5 separate regions of the Homo sapiens genome follow, and regions 1, 2, 4 and 5 are each linked to region 3. Evidence: promoter capture Hi-C in 16 types of primary human blood cells and fetal thymus (Javierre and others, 2016). All regions are on one chromosome and are shown on one strand. Each heading gives the region's core, a stretch centred on a gene start or on the middle of the fragment in contact. The rest is flanking DNA. Distances are from core to core; before and after follow the strand shown. Region 1 has its middle 77 kb from the start of TES. Region 2 has its middle 47 kb from the start of TES. Region 3 holds the start of CAV2 (caveolin 2). Region 4 has its middle 30 kb from the start of TES. Region 5 overlaps TES (testin LIM domain protein).

Evidence for each region. Contacts are between HindIII fragments. The CHiCAGO score rates a contact against its expected background, and 5 or more counts as called.
Region 1: a fragment that was not itself captured here is called in contact with the fragment with the promoter of CAV2 in region 3 in 1 of 17 cell types (total B cells); the score reaches 5.5 in total B cells.
Region 2: a fragment that was not itself captured here is called in contact with the fragment with the promoter of CAV2 in region 3 in 8 of 17 cell types (naive CD8 T cells, naive B cells, total CD4 T cells and 5 more); the score reaches 7.4 in naive CD8 T cells.
Region 4: a fragment that was not itself captured here is called in contact with the fragment with the promoter of CAV2 in region 3 in 2 of 17 cell types (total CD8 T cells and endothelial precursors); the score reaches 6.3 in total CD8 T cells.
Region 5: a contact is called between a fragment that was not itself captured here and the fragment with the promoter of CAV2 in region 3, in 1 of 17 cell types (endothelial precursors). The highest score is 6.9, in endothelial precursors.

The regions. Positions count from the first base shown.
Region 1 is chr7:116,132,254-116,134,953 of GRCh38, reverse strand. It overlaps a transcript of TFEC not described here. Among named protein-coding and RNA genes, the nearest start is that of TES, 77 kb to the left of the region's middle. The HindIII fragment of the contact is 1,045 bases long and covers 915-1,959 here.
Region 2 is chr7:116,162,206-116,165,038 of GRCh38, reverse strand. No RefSeq gene overlaps it. Among named protein-coding and RNA genes, the nearest start is that of TES, 47 kb to the left of the region's middle. The HindIII fragment of the contact is 5,978 bases long and covers 1-2,833 here.
Region 3 is chr7:116,498,327-116,501,069 of GRCh38, reverse strand. It overlaps CAV2 (caveolin 2), which reads right to left and starts at 1,332. Exons shown (of 3, transcript NM_001233.5): 1 at 1,139-1,332; 2 at 623-810. The coding sequence starts at 1,288. CAV2-DT (CAV2 divergent transcript) reads left to right here and starts at 1,554. Exons shown (of 3, transcript NR_188012.1): 1 at 1,554-1,716. RefSeq lists a silencer at 1,360-1,449 and enhancers at 1,630-1,769, 1,816-2,317. The HindIII fragment of the contact is 7,148 bases long and covers 1-2,743 here.
Region 4 is chr7:116,178,911-116,181,721 of GRCh38, reverse strand. No RefSeq gene overlaps it. Among named protein-coding and RNA genes, the nearest start is that of TES, 30 kb to the left of the region's middle. The HindIII fragment of the contact is 2,686 bases long and covers 214-2,811 here.
Region 5 is chr7:116,216,719-116,219,418 of GRCh38, reverse strand. The region is part of intron 1 of TES (testin LIM domain protein); the gene reads right to left. Among named protein-coding and RNA genes, the nearest start is that of TES, 7.5 kb to the right of the region's middle. The HindIII fragment of the contact is 2,110 bases long and covers 267-2,376 here.

The sequences.
Region 1 (2,700 bases), core at 188-2,687, 370 kb after region 3:
AAGTCCTACAGAGACTGGCATTATTCAAATGTGCAACGTATTTGAGCAGGAGCTGAAGAGGTTTTCCTGATGCTTTATAAATAAGACATTTATTTTAGTTTCAAAGGCCAGTATTATAACATTATTTAATACTTTAAGTATAATTGGTGCATTTATTTCCACTCTACCACAAAGCTATAGCATACCTTTTGTTTTCCATTAATATGAACATATTTGTAAGATGTGTATAATTAGAGAAAGTATTTGGGTTCATATACTTAATGCAGTTATCAAAAAAGGGCGAAGAAGACTTCTAATTTTTCGTATAGCAATGCTCACAGTCTTATTAACCTGTTTTCATGTAATTTTTTCCTTCAAAATAAATGATTCAAAACTAACCACATTTACTCTTGATATGTAAAAGTAATAAAAAGAAGTGAATAAAAAAAATTTCAGAGACCCAAAGGGAAGGGTTTGAACTAGAATTTAGGTGGAAAACAGGTCATTTCTGTGCATAGTAATGTTTCTGATTAGCTTTTAAGTAAGAGGTGATTCAATTTGTGTACAATGTGTAATTGATTTAGAAGCAGCAATATATGGTATACATTTTTCCTTCCCTCTTTCTTTTTATTCTTATTTTTTATATCTAGCATGAGAACAGAAGTCAAGCATAGACACCCTGCTTTAAATATGATAAAGGATAAAAGCTGTCATTCTAGTTTCACAGCTTTTCAACTATTTAATCTAAAAGTTTCTGAACTTACACAGATCATTTACTTGACTCAGTCTTTTATATTAATTTTATTTCTTTTAATGTATGCAGCCTTTGTTCTTAAATATTCTTATTCATAAACCAGACACATTTAAGTTGACATCCTTAGCATGTAGAATTTTTCTACAAAGACCTAGTGAGGCAGTTATTTTTAGCTTAAGCTTTTAGTCTGGATTGACTGGCCTGCTATCTCTTGGCTTGGTTTGCCAGCTTTTTCTGTCAGTGATTACACATCAGGAGCTTATGTTGATCTAATTTTTTTTTGTTGTTGCTATTGTTTTGCATTATTACTGCTCAGGACCTGTTCTTCTCTTTTACCTGCTTAACTAATTCAATAGTATTCTACTTCATAAACATCGCTCTCTAATCTTAAAGATGTCTTAGGCATCTAAAAAGCTGCTATTCATAAAGTTTTAGCGTTTACTACAGTACCATAGGTTAAGCTCTGAAAGATAACACAAGAACATGAGAAGTAAAGAGGTAAATTTTCTTTTTCTTTTAATTATTTCAAAGAAAATTCAGTCAGGAAAAAAAAGCTACATTTTTGGGAAATCAACAAGAGGGGCATGAAAAGTCTTTAATTTAAATGATTAAATTATGTTTCCCAGAAATCATTTATTGGCAAAGAATGTTTTTCCCCATCCCCCTACTTTTTTTTTTTTTTTCTGAGACAGAGTCTTGTTCTGTCACCCAGGCTGGAGTGCAGGGGCGTGATCTCAGCTCACTGCAATGTCCACTTTGTGGGGTTCCTCAGTCCCCTGTGTAGCTGGGAATACTGGCACACGCCACCACGTCTGGCTAATTTTTGTATTCTTAGTAGAGATGGGGTTTCACCCTGTTGGCCAAGCTGGTCTCGAACTCCTGGCCTCAAGTCATCTGCCTGCCTTGGCCCCCCAAAGTGCTGGGATTACAGGCATGAACCACCGTGCCTGGCCAGACTTTTCTAATTAAGGAAAGAATTATTTTCGTTTGGTACATAACACGTTTGTAGTTTTGTTGCCGAGAATCTAAACATAAGGTATTGTGAGGTAAACAAAAATTAAATCACTCTTTGTCATTATGTAACTTTTGAAAATTGACAAAAACTGAAAAGATTATAAGCAACTTAAAAATCGATGATAGCTTTTATTGCATACATTTATTTTCTTTTTAAGCACTGTAATAATTTATTTTCTAAAGTAGTCTTAAAACTGTTTTGAAGAAAAGCTTAAAAATTAATGAAACAAAGCTACAAAGTTGACAATGTATTGAAAAGAGGACAGATAAATGAGATAAAAGACAAAAAACACAATTGGTGAAATTTTATATGCATATTAATTAAAATATTCACTGTAAACATTCACAACAAAATTTAATGATGCTTTGCCATTTCAGGAAAAGATTTCTCACTTTTTTCCAGCTAACTAATATTCTATAGCTTGTTTAAAAGTTGTTTTAACGCTATAGTTCTCAAAGAATGTTCTATAGTTCCCGAGGTGTCTCCTAAAACATTTTATTGCTAAAATGTTATTTTCCATTTTCACAGTTTGAATATTTGCACTTACTGTGCAAAAGCAATGGTGAATAAATTGCATGTGCCTTTTTATGAATGAAGGCCGTGGCACCAAACCGCTAGTCAGTCATTATATTCTTCACTGCCATGCACTCACAGTTAAAGAAAACAATGCCAACTTTACTTAGGATTGCCTTTGATGAAGCTGTAAAAATTATTAACTTTATTAGACCTGATCCTTGAGCATATTCAGTTTTTCGAGAGTTATACTTAGCTGATAATATTCTAAGCTTTGATCTTTTTTGCATATTTAAAAAAATTCACTGTAGACCTGAATAGCCAACTACTTTACCTGATGCCAGACCCAAGAAGCAGAAATTTGTTCAAATCCTTAAGAAAACATTAAGAAATAGCATTTTTGAACAGTGCCATATAAACAACACTAAAGGATATGGTT
Region 2 (2,833 bases), core at 116-2,615, 340 kb after region 3:
ATTTTCTGTTTTAAAATGGTTATTATAATATCTGCCCAGAATTGCTGTCAGAATTAGAAGTGATGTTTGTAAAATGCCTATTATCACCCCCAGCAATTGTGGTGCAGCATTACTAATATTATCATATTGCATAGACATTCATAATTATTTAATATTTTCCTGCATATTTACTTTAACATAAAAGAATCAAGCCTTAAAAATCTCTTGCTGGGGAATTATATGCATTCATTTGGAAATGGGAGTGATGATTCTGGGTGAAACATTTCTCAATCTTGCTCAGTCAAAGGGGTTTTCCACTGAGCATATGTTCTGCAGATGTTTATTAAAACATGCTTCTACATAAGTACCAGACATGGAGAGCTCAATTATTGCTAAATTTTCCATGGTCTATTTTATAATTCTTAATCTTTGAACTCTGGACCACTGATAATTTTAAAAGTAATAGGAGGAGGAATAAAATTATTTCCAGCAAAATTTTGTGTATGTACAAAGGATGTAAATGCTTACAAAAACAAGTGTATAAGCATGGAGTTTTTATAACGAATGACAGCAAGGAAAGTCACCCACTGACTTCTAGATTTTTCTGAATGAGTTAAAAAAATGTCATACAACTTTATTTTAGTTTCTTCTTCTATAAAACAGGGAAAATCCCAATTAATCTCTTCTCAAGCCTCACGTTTGTGATGATTTGTCAAGTTACCCATGGCAGAGTTTCCTAGACGTCTATCCGGATTCATCTCCCCTTATTTTAAAAAGAAATCTTGAGTTTCTGAAGGGTGTGTGGCTGCTCGGTAGGCATTCTGTTTCCCAGTTCCTCTCATAGACTTAGTTGGGACCAAAGGAATAGGAGAGAAAGTGATGTGTGTTACTAGAAGGTGATGCGACTGGGACAGCCAAGGTGGCCCAGAGATGGAACACCCTGTTGAGAAAGGCAGATTCTCTCACCCGATCTGGGACTACTAATCTCTGCATAATCAAATGAGCACAAAATAAACTTACACTTTGTTTATACCACTGTATTTGGGGTCTCTATTTCAGAAGCTCAGCCTGTGTCCTACTTATTCAACCCCTTAGAGGAATACAGCACTAATATAGAGGAAAAGGTAGTTTCCAGGTAAACTGGGCACATTTGTGGGCTCTTTACTGTGCTGAGTGTATACTCCTGACAGCTGGTAGTGGCAAGTTAGAAACATCAGATACCTTTAGAAATTCCAGGGATTTCTATTGAGCTGCTGGTCTGTGGGACTGAGCTGTGCCAACATTAATAGTCTCAGAAGTTCTCAAGCAGCTTTTGGAACAGTAGCTTTCCTGGCTGCTCTGACTTCAAGATGCAAGTGCATGGCAGCTTTAGTGTTTCTTCTTTTGTCCCAGACTTTGCCCTGTGGTTTCTTTGGGATGGACTACCCAGACAATGCCTCTGTCCTTTTCCTGTTCATGTAGAACATAGAACATGACCTCCAACCAACCTGAACAATTGAATTTGCAGTTGTTCTTTGGGATAATACTCTGCTCCTGGTAACAGTGGTCCCTTCCTGGTTTCTCTGGAATTAAACTCTGGGCTATATTGTCAGGGGACCATTTATTGATTAGCTCAAATGTAGTTGAAATTTAGGAAAATGAACTCTATAGAGTTTAGGATTTGTAAATGCAGGCACTGGCAATTTTGCTAATCATATATAACAAAGGGATATTTTGTTACAACAATAGAAACCAATGACTACTGAGTATTTTACAAAACAGCTCACAGTAATCCTATGCCTCCCAGTATGTTTTCCTCCCTATTAGTTACATTATGAAAGGTTTGATTGATTGATTGAAGATTTCTAGGCTGATGTGCCTATTGTACTTTGTAAGCCTACATTGCCTCCTGCTGGCTCTTCTTTCTAAATAACTCTTCTCATGTCTCTTCAGAAATAGATCAACAGGCCTTTCTTTTTGTTTGTTTGGTGTTTTGTGTGTGTGTGTGTGTGTGTGTGTGTGTGCCACATATGTTGCCTCTGTGTTTTCTATCTAGACTATCCTGATTCCTGATCCTTCTCATCAAAGAACACATTTTCAAAATAACTAACCTTTAGCAAATAAAATTTCTCTTCCTCCTCCTTCTCCTACACAAACTCTGTTCTTGTACATCTGTTAAAGCAAAGCCCTCCTTTCCTGCTATCCATATCATGATGCTATCTCTGACTATAGCTGTATGTATATAGCGCTATATATATTCCTGCATATAGCGCCATATATATATATATTCCTGCATATGCAGACACATTTCTTGGCTCTCCAGTTTGACTCTTGCCATAGTAATATAGGAAAGACCCTGTGAATGGCTGCAGTAAGAAAACCTGGTTTTCTTATATATGTGCATATATCATCAAGGGAGTTGGGACCAATTTTTTCAGCTGGACTATTTCAGTAGCCTTCCAATTCATCTTCCTGCTTCTGTAATTGCACCCCCCTCCCCAGTCTGTCCTCCACAAAGCAGCCTGGGTGACTTGGTGATCCTTTGAAAATATAAGTTGAATCATGTTTCTCCTCTGCTCAAAACCTTCTAATGCTTTCTAATGCTAAGAATAATATTCATTGTCCTCATCATAGCCTGCTAGGCACCTGGTTCCTCTTTCATTTCTCTGATCTTATCCCTTATATTCTTTCTCTTACTCATGTTGCCTGAGTCTAAATGGCTTTAATACTATTTTTTTAACTTTTATTTTAAGTTCAGGGGTACAAGTGCCAAGTTGGCTACACAGGTAAACTTGTGTCATGGGGGTTTGTTGTACAGATTATTTCATCACCCGGGTATTAAGCCTGGTACCCATTAGTTATTTTTCCTGATCCT
Region 3 (2,743 bases), core at 83-2,582:
GCCTTCTCATTCATTATCCCGCAGCTGGAGTTTTCATTCGTTTGTACTGGGGGGGACCCTCGCCTTAACTGCACACACCTCCCTTTCCTCTGGGTCCCATCCTTGCCATCTGCCAGGGGCAAAGTTGAAGCAGCCCCTCCACACTACTGCTTAACCAGGTCTGACATCCTCATCCAATTCTACTGTCAGCGGCATTCTGCTCAGAGATCACTTTTGTTTTACCCCAAGCACAGGCAGTGACTGAATAAAAGGCAATGAAAGAAAGAAGAGTCCTGCCCAGAACCGCAGGTACGAGTCACAACAGGGCCCCGAGAGCAGCCTGTGGTAAGAAGTGTGGCTTCCAGGTACCCGCCTCCACACTCAGCCCAGCCTTATGTATGCAAGGAAAATCACACCCCAGGAAAGACCGACATTCTTTCTCCTGTTGAAACTCCAAGCCCAAACTGTTATTCTAAAGGAAGCGCATTGCCTTTCAAGGCCTTCCAGTTCTTCCTACTGCTTGGGAACTGATGCGCGTTCCTCCTCCTGACGCCGGCCTGGGATAAGAGGAGAGTAGGGGGCAGGTGGCGGAGAATATGCCCATGTTTCAGAAAGCCGGTCCACCCGGTGTGCCCCGTCTCACCAGATGTGCAGACAGCTGAGGGTGGCAAAGAGAATTCCCGCAATGAAGGCCAGGGGAATGGCCAGGAACACCGTCAGGAACTTGTACATTACGTATTTGCTGATTTCAAAGAGGGCATGGCTGCAGATCCACACTTTGTCAAAGGAGTGCGTAGTCACCGGCTCTGCGATCACATCCTCGAAGCCCAGCTGAGGAGACAGGACGCAGGGACCCCGAACTGTCAGCCAACCTGACGCCCCGGGAACCGGGAGCGCTTTGGGCGGGGGAAGCAGGAGGGAAGGACGTGCCAGGGCGTCCGCCTCTTCTCTTAGGGTCACGGTGGGCGCACAGGAACCTGGCTAAGAATTCCTGGCTACGCGGGCGGCCTGGTGACGGGTGGGACCGGGGAAGGGTGCGGGTCTCAGACCCTGCGGGGCCGACCCGGTAGCAATGGTGGGACGGGTTAGGGCGGGGCTGAGGGGCGCCCGCACCTCCCGGCCTCAGCGGGGACTTGGGCCCGCCCGCCCCGGGCTTCACCTTGAGATGCGAGTTGAGCCGGTGGGGATCCCGGTCCTGGTCCGAGTCCGCGAACTTCTCGGGGTCGGCGTACTCGAGGCCGCTGTGGTGGCTGTAGGAGTCGTCGTCCATGAAGAGCTGTACGTCCGCCTTCTCCGTCTCCAGCCCCATCGCAGCCTTGGTGCGCGGCCGCTGCAGCCCGGCTGGCGCGGTGCGGCTCCCGGTCCGCGCGGCCTCCCCTTCCCGTAGCGCCCGGCCCCGCCCCCCCTCGCCTCGCCTAGCCCTGCGAGGCCCGGGCGGCGGCCGCTTCCCGCTGTGGGCTCCAGCTCCCAGCCCGGCCGTCCCGAGCCCCGCCCCGGCGCCCCGCCGCCCCTCCCCGCCCACCTCCCCCGCCGGGGCGCAGGGAACCGTCCCCACGAGTCACAGCCCGGGCCCTGCAGTGGGCGGCGACGCCGGCAGCTGGGACGAGGAGGGCCTCCTGGTCACCCTTCTGGGGGCCCGTACTGTCATGCCTCAGAGCTGGCAAGTCGTCCCAGGGAAGACAACGGCCTTCCTGGAGGGAGGGAACCTTGTGGTTAGGCGCATGGGGTGCGAAGCAGGTATGTGCTCACCTCCGGCTGTGTTTGCCTTGCGTGCTGCGGCTCATGGTGCTGGTATTGAGCCTCTGGGAACCTCAGCTGCCTCGTTGGCAAAATGGGGGCTGTGGCATCTGTTTCAGGGGTGTCCGTGAGAATTAAATGTTAATTTCACATAAAATTCTAACACACATGGCCCATGGCCCGTAACACACAGTGATAAACTTCCAATCAACGTTGTTGCTGCTGTCGTGAGAGGTAAGGAGCCACAATGTACCTGAGTGCTAGGTACCTGAGTGCTAGGTGACCTGCAAGTGCATGTGGAGTTGGGTAGGCGAACGCCCTGGCCCTAGAGTTTGTGCCTTCAGATCTGAGGTGTGAGGGGAGATCTGATTTTTTTTTTTTTTTTTTTTTTACTTCCTAAACTACACCGTGTGTGTGTGTGTGTGTGTGTTTGTGTGTGTGTGGCAGAGTTTCGCTCTTGTTGCCCAGGCTGGAGTGCAATGGCACGATCTCGGCTCATCGCAACCTCTGCCTCCCGGGTTCAAGCGATTCTCCTGCCTCAGCCTCCCGAGTAGCTGGGATTACAGGCATGCACCACCACGCCTGGCTAATTTTGTATTTTTAGCAGAGACGGGGTTTCCCCATGTTGGTCAGGCTGGTTTCGAACTCCCAACCTCAGGTGATCCGCCCGCCTCGGCCTCCCAAAGTGCTGGGATTGCAGGCGTGAGCCACCGCGCCCGACCTCCACCTTTTAATTTTCTTGTGAACCAGACTGTCTTGAAAGATTCAGGAACTTCTAAGATGCAGTCACATCTGTGATTATCTTGCAGGCAGCACGGAAACAGAACCCTAACACAAAGCCACATTGCAATGGATGAATTAGCCTGCTGACCACTCACGCAAAGGTTTTCAGAAGGGAGGAGTTTGCATGTTCATAAAGGGCTTTAGGGTCTGGTAGACATATACGTGTGTTTGGGGAGGAAGGGCACTTAGTGAAAATTTGCCAAAAGCAAAACAATGAGAACTAGGCTTGAGGTGCAGGTTGCTC
Region 4 (2,811 bases), core at 307-2,806, 320 kb after region 3:
GAGAACTTTTGTGTCTAGCTCAGGGATTGTAAATGCACCAATCAGCACCCTGTCGAAACAGACCAGTCAGCTCTCTGTAAAACAGACCAATCAGCTCTCTGTAAAATGGACCAATCAGCAGGATGTGGTTGAGGCCAGATAAGAGAATAAAAACAGGCTGCCCCAGCCAGCAGTGGAAACTAGGTGGGGTCCGGCTTCCACACTGTGGAAGCTTTGTTTTTTTGCTCTTTGCAATAAATCTTGCTGCTGTTGACTCTTTTGAGTCCACACTGCCTTTACGGGCCTGTAACACTCACGGCAAAGGTCTGCAGCTTCGCTCCTGAAGCCAGTGAGACCAAGAACCCACTGGAAGAAACGAACAACTCCAGACGCACCGCCTTGAGAGCTGTAACGCTGACCGCGAAGGTGTGCAGCTTCGCTTCTGAGCCAGCGACACCACGAACAAACCAGAAGGAAGAAACTCCGAACACATCTGAACAACAGAAAGAACAAACTCCGGATACTCCGCCTTTAAGAAGTGTAACACTCACCGCGAGGGTCCACGGCTTCATTCTTGAAGGCAGTGAGACCAAGAACCCACCAATTCCGGACACATCGAGACAAAACATATATGGAAGAAACAAATATGCAAAATGTTAATGAGGTAGGAGGTCTATGAGTAATATTGTTCAATCTTTACTTTTCTGTACTAAACGTTTCCATGTTAGTGAAAATTCTAAACATTTAATATGAAAGTACATATATATATAAAAGTTAATTGCAGTTGTCTGCAGGAATAATTAGAAAAAGGAAAAAGTTTAAGAAATAAATGTCAGCTTTATTCAGCCTAATCTTATTTTTCTTTATTCTAGGAGATAGACTTAAAACATTTTTTTCTCATCTTTTTTTTTTTGAAGATAGATAATTTCTAGAATCAAAATAATAGAGTCCCTATTACATGATTTAATTTTTTTCTTCAGAACATCCAGTTCTTTTCAGTCTGCTCTGGGTGCTCATCAAACCTTATGCAATCTATGTATTGGGCTTCATTGTGTCGTAGGTGAACAACCAGTCTCAATTCTTGATAGGGAGAGTATGTCTCAGTGATTCATTGTGTGACAAAGTTGCCAGTACAAGAGACTACCTGGTGGTCAGTAAGCTGCAGACCAAGAGTAACTTAAAGGACTCCTCCGGACTTCAGCTCAGTCAAGGATATCTAACACTGTTTTGAGGCACCTACCTGGTCTTCTTTCTCAAGGAATGTTATTGTTGCCAAAGCCCTTGTAAAGACAGCTATAAGATACTTTGAGTTCTGTCAGGCATTGCAGAAGTTGTTGGAGACCCCTGGTGGCAATATAAAGGATAAACAGCTCACTGCAAAGTTTGATGCTAGTATGGAAAATAGTATCAATGGGAAGAGAAACTATTCTCTCTTAGCCTCCTTTTGCTTCTCTGACATTTCTATTCTTTCTCCTGCTGTTTCAAAAATTTGTTATTCTTTAAAGATTTTTCCATGCTATTCTCATTTATACATGTTCCCTGAGTGATCATACCCATTCACCAAATCATACTTTCAGCATGGTTTTCTCCGTTGAGTTTCATGCCTGTATTTCCACTTCCTTGCTACTTATTTCTATATATAGATATCTCTTAAACTCAACATTACAAAAAGGCACTAATTGTCTATGTTTTCTAATTCTATATTTCCTATCCAATGAAATACTATCACAATACAGCCAGGCTAGAGGGCTTATACTTCAAGGTACAAAGAGTATGGCACACTTACCAGGTGTGAGGCACAGGGGTAGGTGCTGGGATAAGGAAAAGAAAGTCACATCTTAGAGCAGAGTGAGAAAACATATCCTTTAATGTGATAGAGGAATACAGGTAGTGCTTTGGAAGTTCTGAGGAAGGAGACCTAACTCAGACTGAGATGGAAAGATTCAAGATGAAGAACTCTTAGAAGAAATTACTATAAAGCTGTATTGTAGACAGTAAGAATTTGTCTGTTATAATCTGAATTTTACTCTCCCCCCAAATTCATATATTGAAGTCATAGCATTCAGTAACCTTGAATGTGTCTGTATTCTGAGATATTGTCTTTAAAGAGATAAGTTAAAGTGAGGTGAGTAGGGTAGGCCCTAATTTCATATGAATGGTGTCCTTATGAGAAGAAGAAATTTGGACACAGACATGGACAGAGGAAATATGTGAAAACACAGGAAAACAGCCATTTACAAGCCAATGAGAGACCCCATAGAAGAAATCAACTGTGCTGACTTGTTTATGTTGGACTTCTAGCCTCCAGAACTCTGAGAAAATTTATGTTAAGTTACCCAGTCTGTGGTACTTCATTATGGTGGCCCTCGCAAACTAATATAGTCTGATTTCTTTTTCGAGGTAATGGTAAGACTGTTCTAAGCAGAGGGAAGAAAATATGCAAAACAAATGGCCATCAAAGATGATAGCTTACTTGAGAAACTAAAAGTAGTTTGGCACTACCGGATCACTGGTCATATAGTGGGTAAGGGCCGTCGAAAATTTGGGGTAGTGAGATCTGAGAGACCAGATTATGAGAGGCATCATGTGCCAAATTAAATGGTGGAAATTGAGGTGGCAGGAAGGGGAAGACATGGAATTAAAGGAAGTAGTATTAAAGGAGATCTCATACATTGCAATTGGTTTTCTCCAATCAAAGTTAATCATGGGTGTATAACTCTTAGGTCTCTGTCTAGCCCAGTTTTCTATGTTAATGACTAGTAGTATTTCATGATAATTACCAATTGTCTAAGAGATAGAGAAATACTTCCAAGAACCTCATTAATTTTTTTC
Region 5 (2,700 bases), core at 72-2,571, 280 kb after region 3:
GTATTAAATAATCATCACAGTTAAGGGAGATCAGAAACTCTTCAGCTGTGGGCTAGGGTCTTATACTAGCTCAGTGACATACCTCTTTAATTCAAACCTGTACTGTGGAAAAATTACAAATTACTGCAGCTCATCTACTTTAGCTTTATTTTAGAAGAGACAAAACTGAAAATGTCAAGGGTGGTTTTACTGACTTTTCACAGCCAGGTACCTTTGGTTCATGCTATTTCCTCTTTATGGAATGCTTTCTTTGCCTAATGAAAGCTTCTTTATTCTATAGGAGGTGTTTCCTTGATAAAATAATCGCAACCCACACAATTAAAGTTAGTTACTTCTGCTTCTAAGACTTCATAACAGTTGTTTGTATTTCTATTATTGCTGTGCTACTCAAAGTGGCAGTTCACAAAGTGTAAGTCACTAGTCTGTGATGAGATAGGCAGAGAAACTGACAGTAGGCAATTAGGAACTACTATATACTTAAAGTAATTTTGTGTCTCTTGCATTTAATAATTTTTTTAATTGGCCCTGTATTTGTCTTTTAAGTAATAAATTTTTATTGTGTTTTTAAAAATATCAACCAATGATTAATTTTTGTTTATAAAAAGGTTCCTCATCCCAGATAAGAAATTGTATTATAGCACTTATGTCATTCTATCCAGCACTGTAGTTAACTTACACATCTGTTTTGCTCACTCATCTTCCTTCCTTTTTTAAAAAAAAATCTATCAAAGGTGACATCGGTATTTTGCTCAAGAGGTGATACTGATAGATATGGAGTTTAGAGTCTGTAGTTTTAAATCTAAACTGCACTTTTAATATTCTCTACGAAAAACAAAGGGTAATTTTTTTAACCCCCAGTTATTTTTATTGTAGGCCAGTATCTCATAAAGGAAAAATCAGATCCTTGATCCTTACTTTGTGACTCATTCTGTTAAGACTGTCACGTTGTGGTCATATAAAAACAAAAATCCACCTAACATCTACATGGTCATTTTTCAATGAAACATGATATCACTTTATCATCAAACAAAGCAAGGGAAAAGTTCATTGTGGCTAGAGATGCATTAATGGACTCCTTATCAAGGCATTTCTGCTGGGCTGAATGCCATCTTTTCTGCTGGGCTCGCTGCTCAGATAAGCTATGCAATGAACACCCTGAAACTCCTGTTTACAGCTTTTCACAGTGGCCAGAATGTCACAATGATAAACACAAGCTGAATCACTCATGGTTTGAGGATAATTCAGCATTTCAGATTAAGTATATTTACAGAGTAGTAACTTTGCTGTCATTCAGCAGATGAGATCTCAGCAATCCCCACTAGGCTGGCTTCTAATAACGCTCTCCCACTTTAAGCCATGCTCAAATCTGAGCCGACTCCCCACCATTCTAACAGACTAAGGAACAGAGAAATTGGCAATTCTAAACTATGCTTTTTTACTTTTTTGAATTTGACCAAAATAAATACAGTGATACTTAGAAAATTATAGTCATGCATATCCTTATCGCTCTAATTCCCCATTATCTAACTAGAATGTTAGGTAGACAGGGCACTTAGAACTGAAAATTGACAAAACCATGCTAAATGGCAGCTCTTTTGTAGGAGAGTCAAAGATTGTAGTTGGGCAGTTGAAAAGCATAACCTCTAAATTTAATCCTCTAATAGTGCTTGAGGCAAATTTTAAACATGGATATTTACTCAAAGAACAGTAGTGAAGTTATCAATTACCAAATTATTTTTCTTTAAAATCCTGAAAATCTGCAGTTTTGCAATGTTTTTGATTAGTCTTTTGTTTCCTTATCTTCCTCTCCTAGAAAAAGTTGATTTCATAATTAATAATATAATTTCTCTGGATACCACCACCTTGTAAAAAGTAAAATAATTTCCTGTATATTAATGATTTAATAAACAATTCTTTTAAAATCATAATTTTGGTTACCATGGCAGTAGTTACCAAACAAAAATTAGCTATGACTGCAAACAGGAAATCCAAGAATGACTCTTTTGTAAGGCATTTGTAGGCAGGGAGAAGACTTATAGTTTGTGTATATTATAGGTGTAAGTCTATTTGTATAGCTTTATGCATTCATAATCTTTTTCACATTCTAATACATAAAAGCTGCTTTCTCATTTTCCCATCTTTTACATTTGCTATTACTTAAGACAAATGAAATAAGAATCCCTAATTACAAAGTTTGCAAAACCAAGAATCAAGCCCAGGGATCACCATCAAAATTGCTCACTGTCTGTGTTAGAAACATAGCGTACTGCTAACCTATCAAGAGTTCACTGACGGGTATAATTCCAGTTGTGCTTACTTTCAATATTTACATTGCTCTATCAACACTTGCAATAGCATAATTCTATGATACAAGCTTAAGTTCAGTGTCATTCTTGTTCACAACTATAACCCCAGAGTCTAGAACAGTGCATGGTACGTAAAAAAGCACTCATATAGTTTTTTTTTAATCTTTTAAAATTATTTTAACAGCCTTATTTTGAGAGAGATAACTTTTAAAGAAAATAAATGTTCCATTATTTTTCATTTTCCCATAATTAAATACCAAGGTAAGTAATACATCACTCCTAGACTTATGGGACCCACACTATTACAGCCTTCAGAGCCTTATACTACAGATTTAAATTAATTAAACTTAACCTAATATCTTCAAATACCTCCACAAATATTATGAAAATTAAG